2 separate regions of the Homo sapiens genome follow, and region 1 is linked to region 2. The links are contacts of gene promoters, found by promoter capture Hi-C in human tissues and cell types (Jung and others, 2019). All regions are on one chromosome and are shown on one strand. The core of a region is centred on a gene start or on the middle of the fragment in contact, and the rest is flanking DNA. Distances in the headings are between cores, read along the strand shown. Region 1 holds the start of ACOT6 (acyl-CoA thioesterase 6). Region 2 has its middle 16 kb from the start of RIOX1.

Evidence for each region. The method cuts DNA at HindIII sites, captures the fragments that hold promoters and counts their contacts. A contact is called where the count stands out against the background at its distance.
Region 1: a contact is called between the fragment with the promoter of ACOT6 here and a fragment that was not itself captured in region 2, in 4 of the 25 tissues and cell types used here (IMR-90 fibroblasts, adrenal gland, lymphoblastoid cells and 1 more).

Annotation. Positions count from the first base shown.
Region 1 is chr14:73,610,831-73,614,532 of GRCh38, forward strand. It overlaps ACOT6 (acyl-CoA thioesterase 6), which reads left to right and starts at 1,687. Exons shown (of 3, transcript NM_001365788.1): 1 at 1,687-2,202. The coding sequence starts at 1,742. It also overlaps a transcript of HEATR4 not described here. RefSeq lists enhancers at 1,798-1,847, 1,865-2,364, 1,898-1,947 and a silencer at 3,023-3,267. The HindIII fragment of the contact is 22,654 bases long and covers 1-3,702 here.
Region 2 is chr14:73,472,955-73,476,529 of GRCh38, forward strand. No RefSeq gene overlaps it. Among named protein-coding and RNA genes, the nearest start is that of RIOX1, 16 kb to the right of the region's middle. The HindIII fragment of the contact is 5,447 bases long and covers 1-3,575 here.

The sequences.
Region 1 (3,702 bases), core at 437-2,936, 140 kb after region 2:
CCTGGCTCTATTCCAGCCCCTCCCTACAAACAGGATGTCTTTCAATGCTTTAACCCAGCAGTCACATGACCCCAGAGTACAAAACTCAGGGCAGCTGCAGTGCAAGTGGGGCACACACACATGAGATTCCATCACCCAGGCAGCATTCCTGAGCCTTGGGGGACTGGTTTCCAATGATTCTTAGGCTTCTGTCATTCTTTGCTGCCTATCTGTAAGTAATAAATCCAGTTCATGTAAATTGTTGTATTAAATATATGAATGTGTTTTCTCACTGGACTCAGACAAGTTGGTAACCAGCATACAGTGAACTTGCTTCATAGAGTCTAATACCTTTTTGTTCAGTTTATACATGTTTACTGAGCTGGGCATCACTATATGCTCTTCTTCCTTCTCCACCCTGCTATGTTCCCAGCTAGGTTGAGCTGTGTGGTTGGGTTTGGCCAAAGAGAGGCATTAGCAAGATACTGAAAAACAAGAGGAGAGTCAAGGGACTTATAGTCTCCTCCTTCCTGCCACAAACCATAGGTTCCTTCTAAAAAAGGTACAACTCCTATCAGACTGCCCCCTTCCCTTGAACCTTCAGATTCAGGGTTCTACACCGAATCTTGTTTCATTGTTTTTGTTTTTAAATCTTGCCCATGCCTTTGTAGATAGTACCTTTATAAAACTCTCCTCAATTACACAGGCTGAGAGTGCCACTTGCTTACTGCCAGAACTCTGTATGCATACAACCCAAAATGGACTCTGCCAGTGATTAGATTTGTGAGGTAAGAAACAAAACAAAACTTTCACTGGGTACTAACCTACAGGTGTGTCAGTGTAGTGTTTTTACACATTAGCCCATTTAATGGTCACAATAAGCCTTTTCAGATAAGAAAACTGAATTTAGAGGGTTATGTTTCTTGCTAAAGATCACCAGGTATTAATATTAAGGATCAGGGTCAGACCAGAACTCGGCTAGGTCTGCCTCCCTAAACATCTGCTTTGCTCCAGGTACCATTAGCCCTGGAAAAAAGGCTTGGTAAGGGACTGAGGGGTAAAGGACGGATTACGACCATGTTTCTCCAAGGGGTCACCTGAGTACAATCACCTGGGATGCTTTTTCAAAATCTAGATTCTTGGACTGTATCTCTCTCAATCCTTTAGCTCTCAGTGGTTTTTGTGCCTCTATTTCGACACTCACCACATTGGATTGCAGGAATAGTCATTAACTCTTTTTTTTTTTTTTTAGACGGAGTTTTGCCCTTGTTGCCTAGGCTGGAGTACAATGGTGCAATCTTGGCTCAATGCAACCTCTGCCTCCTGGGTTCAAGCAATTCTTCTGCCTCAGCCTCCCAAGTAGCCGGGATTACAGGCATGCGCCACCACACCTGGCTATTTTGTATTTTCAGTAGAGATGAGGTTTCACTCTGTTGGTCAGGCTGGTCTTGAACTCCTAACCTCAGGTGTGATCCACCCACCTCGGCCTCCCAAAGTTCTAGGATCACAGGCGTGATCCACCGCCCCCGGCCGGATTGGTCATTAACTCTTATTTCAGCAGATACTCTTTCATTTGGGACACTGGTGTATTTGCACAAATTCTAGGCGCCCCACGCAGCGGCCTGGAGCCTGTCCCCAAGTCCAACCAATGGGAGTAGTGTTAAGGGCTCCGCCCTCGACTACTTTCCAGCGCTCGGCAAAGCCGCCAGGCCCGCCCACTGACTCCGCGGAGCTGGGTCGCCCCTGTTCTACCCAGATTGGGATGGCAGCGACGCTGATCCTGGAGCCCGCGGGCCGCTGCTGCTGGGACGAGCCGCTGCGCATCGCAGTGCGCGGCCTGGCCCCGGAGCAGCCAGTCACGCTGCGCACGTCCCTGCGCGACGAAGAGGGCGCGCTCTTCCGGGCCCACGCGCGCTACCGTGCCGACGCCCGCGACGAGCTGGACCTGGAGCGCGCGCCCGCGCTGGGAGGCAGCTTCGCGGGGCTCCAGCCCATGGGGCTGCTGTGGGCGTTGGAGCCCGAGAAAGCCTTGGTGCGGCTGGTGAAGCGCGACGTGCGGACGCCCTTCGCCGTGGAGCTGGAAGTGCTGGACGGCCACGACACCGAGCCCGGGCGGCTGCTGTGCCTGGCGCAGAACAAGCGCGACTTTCTCCGGCCGGGGGTGCGGCGCGAGCCGGTGCGCGCGGGCCCGGTGCGCGCCGCGCTCTTCCTGCCGCCGGATGAGTAGTCTGCCCAGAATTTGGTCGAGCTCTGCGACCCCCACCGGCCCCTTTCCTGTCCTGGGAATCGCGTGATTGTGGAACATCCCTGAACTTGTTCCTTCGCTCCAGAGTCTGTCATGGATTCTGAGTCTGGGCGTCCGCTGTTGCCCAGGCTGGAGTGCCGTGGCTGGATCGTAGCTCACACTGCAGCCTCGAACTCCTGGGCTCAAGTCCTCTCGCCTCAGCCTCCTGAGTAGCTACTCCAGTCTTTCCTTTTTAAGTTTCACGTCCCTCCCTGGAGGCACCACCACTTTAGCTATGTGCTGAATAGTGCATTCAACTTATTATATATTTATTGAGAGCCACTATGTGCCAGCCATGTGGTTTTGTTTGAATACGATATGGGCAAAACCTTAAGCTGATGTGCAAGAAGGATTTTTGCCTCCTTTCACATCAAACTTCCAAAGAAGCTAAAATCCACAGTATTGGCAATGCCCTTTAATTGTTTAAAAACACACACAAAACTGCCTGACAGTCCTCTCCCTTCTATCATAAACATGCTGTACGTGGTTCTCAACCTGCAATGATTAGCCGCCCTCCCTGGGGGAAATTTGGCAATATCTGGAGACATTTGTGGTTGTCATATCTGAAGGGAGAGGTGCTATTGGCATCTAGCAGGCAGAGGCCAGAGATGCTGCTAAACATTCCACAATGCACAGGACAACCACCAGAACAAAGAATTATCTTGCTGAAAATGTCTGTACTACTGAGGTTGAGGAACCCTAGTCTAAGTAAACACAGGATGTTTGCTAGGTAAAGGTAGCCCAGAAAGAAGACTCCTGATTAATCCCTTCTAACTAAATTCCTGACTTAAACCTCTACCATATAAAAATGATGAGCCGGGCACAGTGGCTCAGGCCTGTAATCCCAGCACTTTGGGAGGCTGAGGTGGGCAGATCACTTGAGCCCAGGAGTTCAAGACCAGCCTGGGCAACATGGTGAAACTCTGTCTCTACAAAAAAAAAAAAAAAAAAAAAAAAATTAGGCAGGCATGGTGGTGCATGCCTGTAGTCCCAGCTGCTTGGGAGGCTGAGGTGGGAGGATTGTTTGATATCAGGAAGTAGAGGTTGCAGTGAGCTGAGATCACGCCACTGCATTCCAGCCTGGACAACAGAGTGAAACCCTGCCTCAAACAACAACAACAACAACAAATTCTAGAGTTGCAACAGCACATAGAATCCTTAAACCGAATTCTGTGATTATTCTCCAAAACAAGAAAACTTGCTTTATTTTTACAGCTCTTCAGCAATTCTTAGCCTTAACTCGTGGCTGCCCACTGTACTGTGAATTCCTGGGGCTGGAATTGGGTCTTACAGATTTCTAAATATCCATGTTCCTAGAGGCTTTCGCAAGGATATAGTAGGAGCTCAATAAATCATACTGACTGGGCCAGGCGCAGTGGCTCACACCTGTAATCCTAGCACTTTGGGAGGCTGAGGTGGGTGGATCACTTGAGGCCAGG
Region 2 (3,575 bases), core at 1,031-3,530:
GAAGGATAAAGTAATTTTCACAAAGTCACACATTTATTATTAGCAGTAGGTTATTTGAACTTGCATCTACCATTTTCCCACAATACCACGTTGCTTTGCAGAGGCTTTTGGAAGTCTGATGTGCTCCACTTAGCTTCTGTCTAGGGGAGTCTCAAACTCAGAAGCGTTAGGAAATTGCATGGTGCTGTGAGCTGAAGCCCTCCAAACAACAGTTTGGTGTTGATGGGATAGTGTGGTCTAATGAAGGCACTAACTGCCTGATCCTCTCTCTGGATTCTTTTTTTTTAAGACAAGGTCTTGCTTTGTTGCCTAGGCTGGAATGCCGTGGCATGATCACAGCTCACTACAGCCTTGAACTCCTGGGCTCAGCTGGGACCAGAGGTGCATGCCACCATGCCCAGCTATCTTTGTATTTTTTGTAGAGATGGGGTTTTGCCATGTTGCTCAGGCTGGTATTTTTATGTTTTGTAGAGACGGGGGTCTCCCTATGTTGCTATGAACATTCATGTCAATTTCAATTTTTTAAAAATTATTTCAAAAGAAACTCATTGTAATTGTTTGTGTTAAAAAATGATAACTTGCCCAGGTGCAGTGGCTCATGCCTGTAATCTCAGCACTTTGGGAGGCCAAGGCGAGTGGATCACTTGAGGTCAGGAGTTTGAGACCAGCCTGACCAACATGGCAAAACCCCGTCTACACTAAAAATACAAAAATTAGCTGGGCATGGTGGTGGGTACCTGTAATCCCAGCTACTCAGGAGGCTAAGGCAGGAGAATGGCTTGAACCTGGGAGGTGGAGGTTGCAGTGAGCCAAGACTGTGCCACTGTACTCCAGCCTGGGCGACACAAGACTCTGTCTCAAAAACAAACAAACAAAAACCTTAAGCATACACATTAAAAATCTACCAAAACTTTTTAAAATTGAGTTTTGGCACTTCATTTTTAAAAATATAACTGGGGTCTCAAAAAGGAGTAACGAGGCCGGGCGCGATGGCTCACGCCTATAATCCCAGCACCATGGGAGGCCGAGGCCGGCAGATCATGAGGTCAGGAGATTGACACCATCCTGGCTAACACGTTGAAACCCCGTCTCTACTACAAAAATACAAAAAATTAGCCGAGCTTGGTGGCGGGCCCCTGTAGTCCCAGCTACTCGGGAGGCTGAGGCAGGAGAATGGCGTGAACCCGGGAGGCGGAGTTTGCAGTGAGCCGAGATCGTGCCACTGCACTCCAGCCTGGGCAACAAAGACTCCGTCTCAAAAAAAAAAAAAAAAAAAAAAAAGAGTAACCAGCTTGCTCTTGACCTCTGAAAGGCTCTGTTGCTGCCTCCAACAAGAAAAGCCCATTTTATCCAATTAGACAACAAATCCCCAAAGTCAGAAAAACCACGTGATATTTGCTGGCATATCCATGATGACTACTAATTATGTATTTGGTAAATGTTTGCTGACAATATAGCCCATCAAGAAATGATGGGAGGCCGGGCGAGGTGGCTCACGCCTGTAATCCCAGCACTTTGGGAGGCCGAGGCGGGCGGATCACGAGGTCAGGAGATCGAGACCATCCTGGCTAACACAGTGAAACCCCGTCTCTGCTAAAAACACAAAAAAATTAGCTGAGCGCGGTGGCAGGCGCCTGTAGTCCCAGCTATTCGGGAGGCTCAGGCAGGAGAATGGCGTGAACCCGGGAGGCGGAGCTTGCAGTGAGCCGACATCGCGCCACTGCACTCCAGCCTGGGCGACAGAGCCAGACTCCGGCTCAAAAAAAAAAAAAAAAAAAAAAGATGGGAAGGCTGGGTGCGGGTGGCTCATGCCTGTAATCCCAGCACTTTGGGAGGCTGAGGCAGGTGGATCACTTGAGGCCAGGAGTTTGAGACCAGCTTGGCTAACATGGTGAAACCCTGTCTTTACTAAAAAAATATTAATATTAGCCGGGTGTGGTGGCTCACACAGGTAATCCCAGCTACTCAGGAGGCTGAGGCGCGAGAATCACTTGAAAACCAGAGGTGGAGGTTGTAGTGAGCCAAGGTCATAACACTGCACTCCAGTCTGGATGAAAGAGCGAGAAACTCTGTCCCTTAAAAAAAAAGAAAACAAAGAAATGATGGGACAGGGTGAGGGTAGGGGAGAGGAAATTCTAACACAGGTGATTTCCTTCTGACCCACAACCCCCACTTTGCTGTTGGTCTGGCTGACGTGGTTCACAAGGGGGATGGTAACTTAGATGGAACGTGTAAACCAATGGAAACATGAACCTTGATTGAAAAATGAAAAATTTCTCTAGATCCTGACTAAGGCAAGGTCAGCATGTTTCTCCCACATGCTGGTCCAAACAGAAGCTTTCTTTTACGGCAGGATAGGGATCAGTCCCTTGTCTAATCAACCAGTGGAGTTAATGAGTATGGCAGAAGGAAGGGAGAGGAAAGATGACAAAAGGAGCAATGAAAAGGAAACACCTGACACATTTATCTTTGTGAGAAGTGAGAATCACCTGTAAATGCCTCAGCCAGGAAGGACAGGTAGGGCCCTTTATAAAAGGATTTGTGGAACTTCTGGAGTATTTTGTCATTATAACATTTTGTTAATAGATTAACAAGGCTGGGCGCAGTAGCTCACACCTATAATCCTAGCACTTTGGGAGGCCAAGGCAGGCGGATTCACTTGAGGTCAGGAGTTCGAAACCAGCTTGGCCATCATGGTGAAACCCCGTCTCTACTAAAATTACAAAAAATTAGCTGGGCATGTGGTATGCGCCTGTAATCCCAGCTACTCAGGAGGCTGGGGCGGAGAATCTCTTGAACCTGAGAGGCGGAGGTTGCAGTGAGCCGAGATCATGCCACCCCGACTCCAGCCTGGACAACAGAGCGAGACTCCATCTCAAAAAAAAAAAAAAAAAAAAGATTAACAAAAACATGGCTGGGCACAGTGGCTCAAGCCTGTAATCCCAGCACTTTAGGAGGGCAGATCATTTGAGCCCAGGAGTTTGGGACTGGCCTAGGCAGCATAGCGAGACCCCATCTCTACAAAAAATATAAAAATTAGCCAGGCGTTGTGGTGCATGCCTGTGGTCCCAGCTACTGAGGAGGCTGAGGTGGGAGAGTCACTTGAGCCCAGAAGGTTGAGGTTGCAGTGAGCCAAGATCTTACCACCACACTTCAGCATGGGCAACAGAGTGAGACCCCGTCTCAAAAACAACAACAACAACAACAACAAACACAAAACACAAAGAAACAAAACCGTGATAGTAAGGAGAGCAGATGCCTGCTTTTCTGTTGTGAAGAAACTTGGGAACCACTGTGGAAACAGGAGAGGGGAAAGGAGCTGTCATGGACCCTTGCTGAGCTCCTTCCTTCCCCCAGCCTTTTCTCCCATCCCTCCCCTTACCTGGAAGGTCCTCTCTCCTCCTCTCTGCCTAAATCTTGTGCCATCTCAGATCCAACACAAATTCCCATGTCTCCATGACGACTCCTGCCCCCCTTCCCTGAACTCCTACAGCACATCTGCTGTATACCACACAATTCTCACTAAATTAAGCATATTGTCTTTGAAAGGTTCTTGTGTGTCTGTCTTCTAAAAC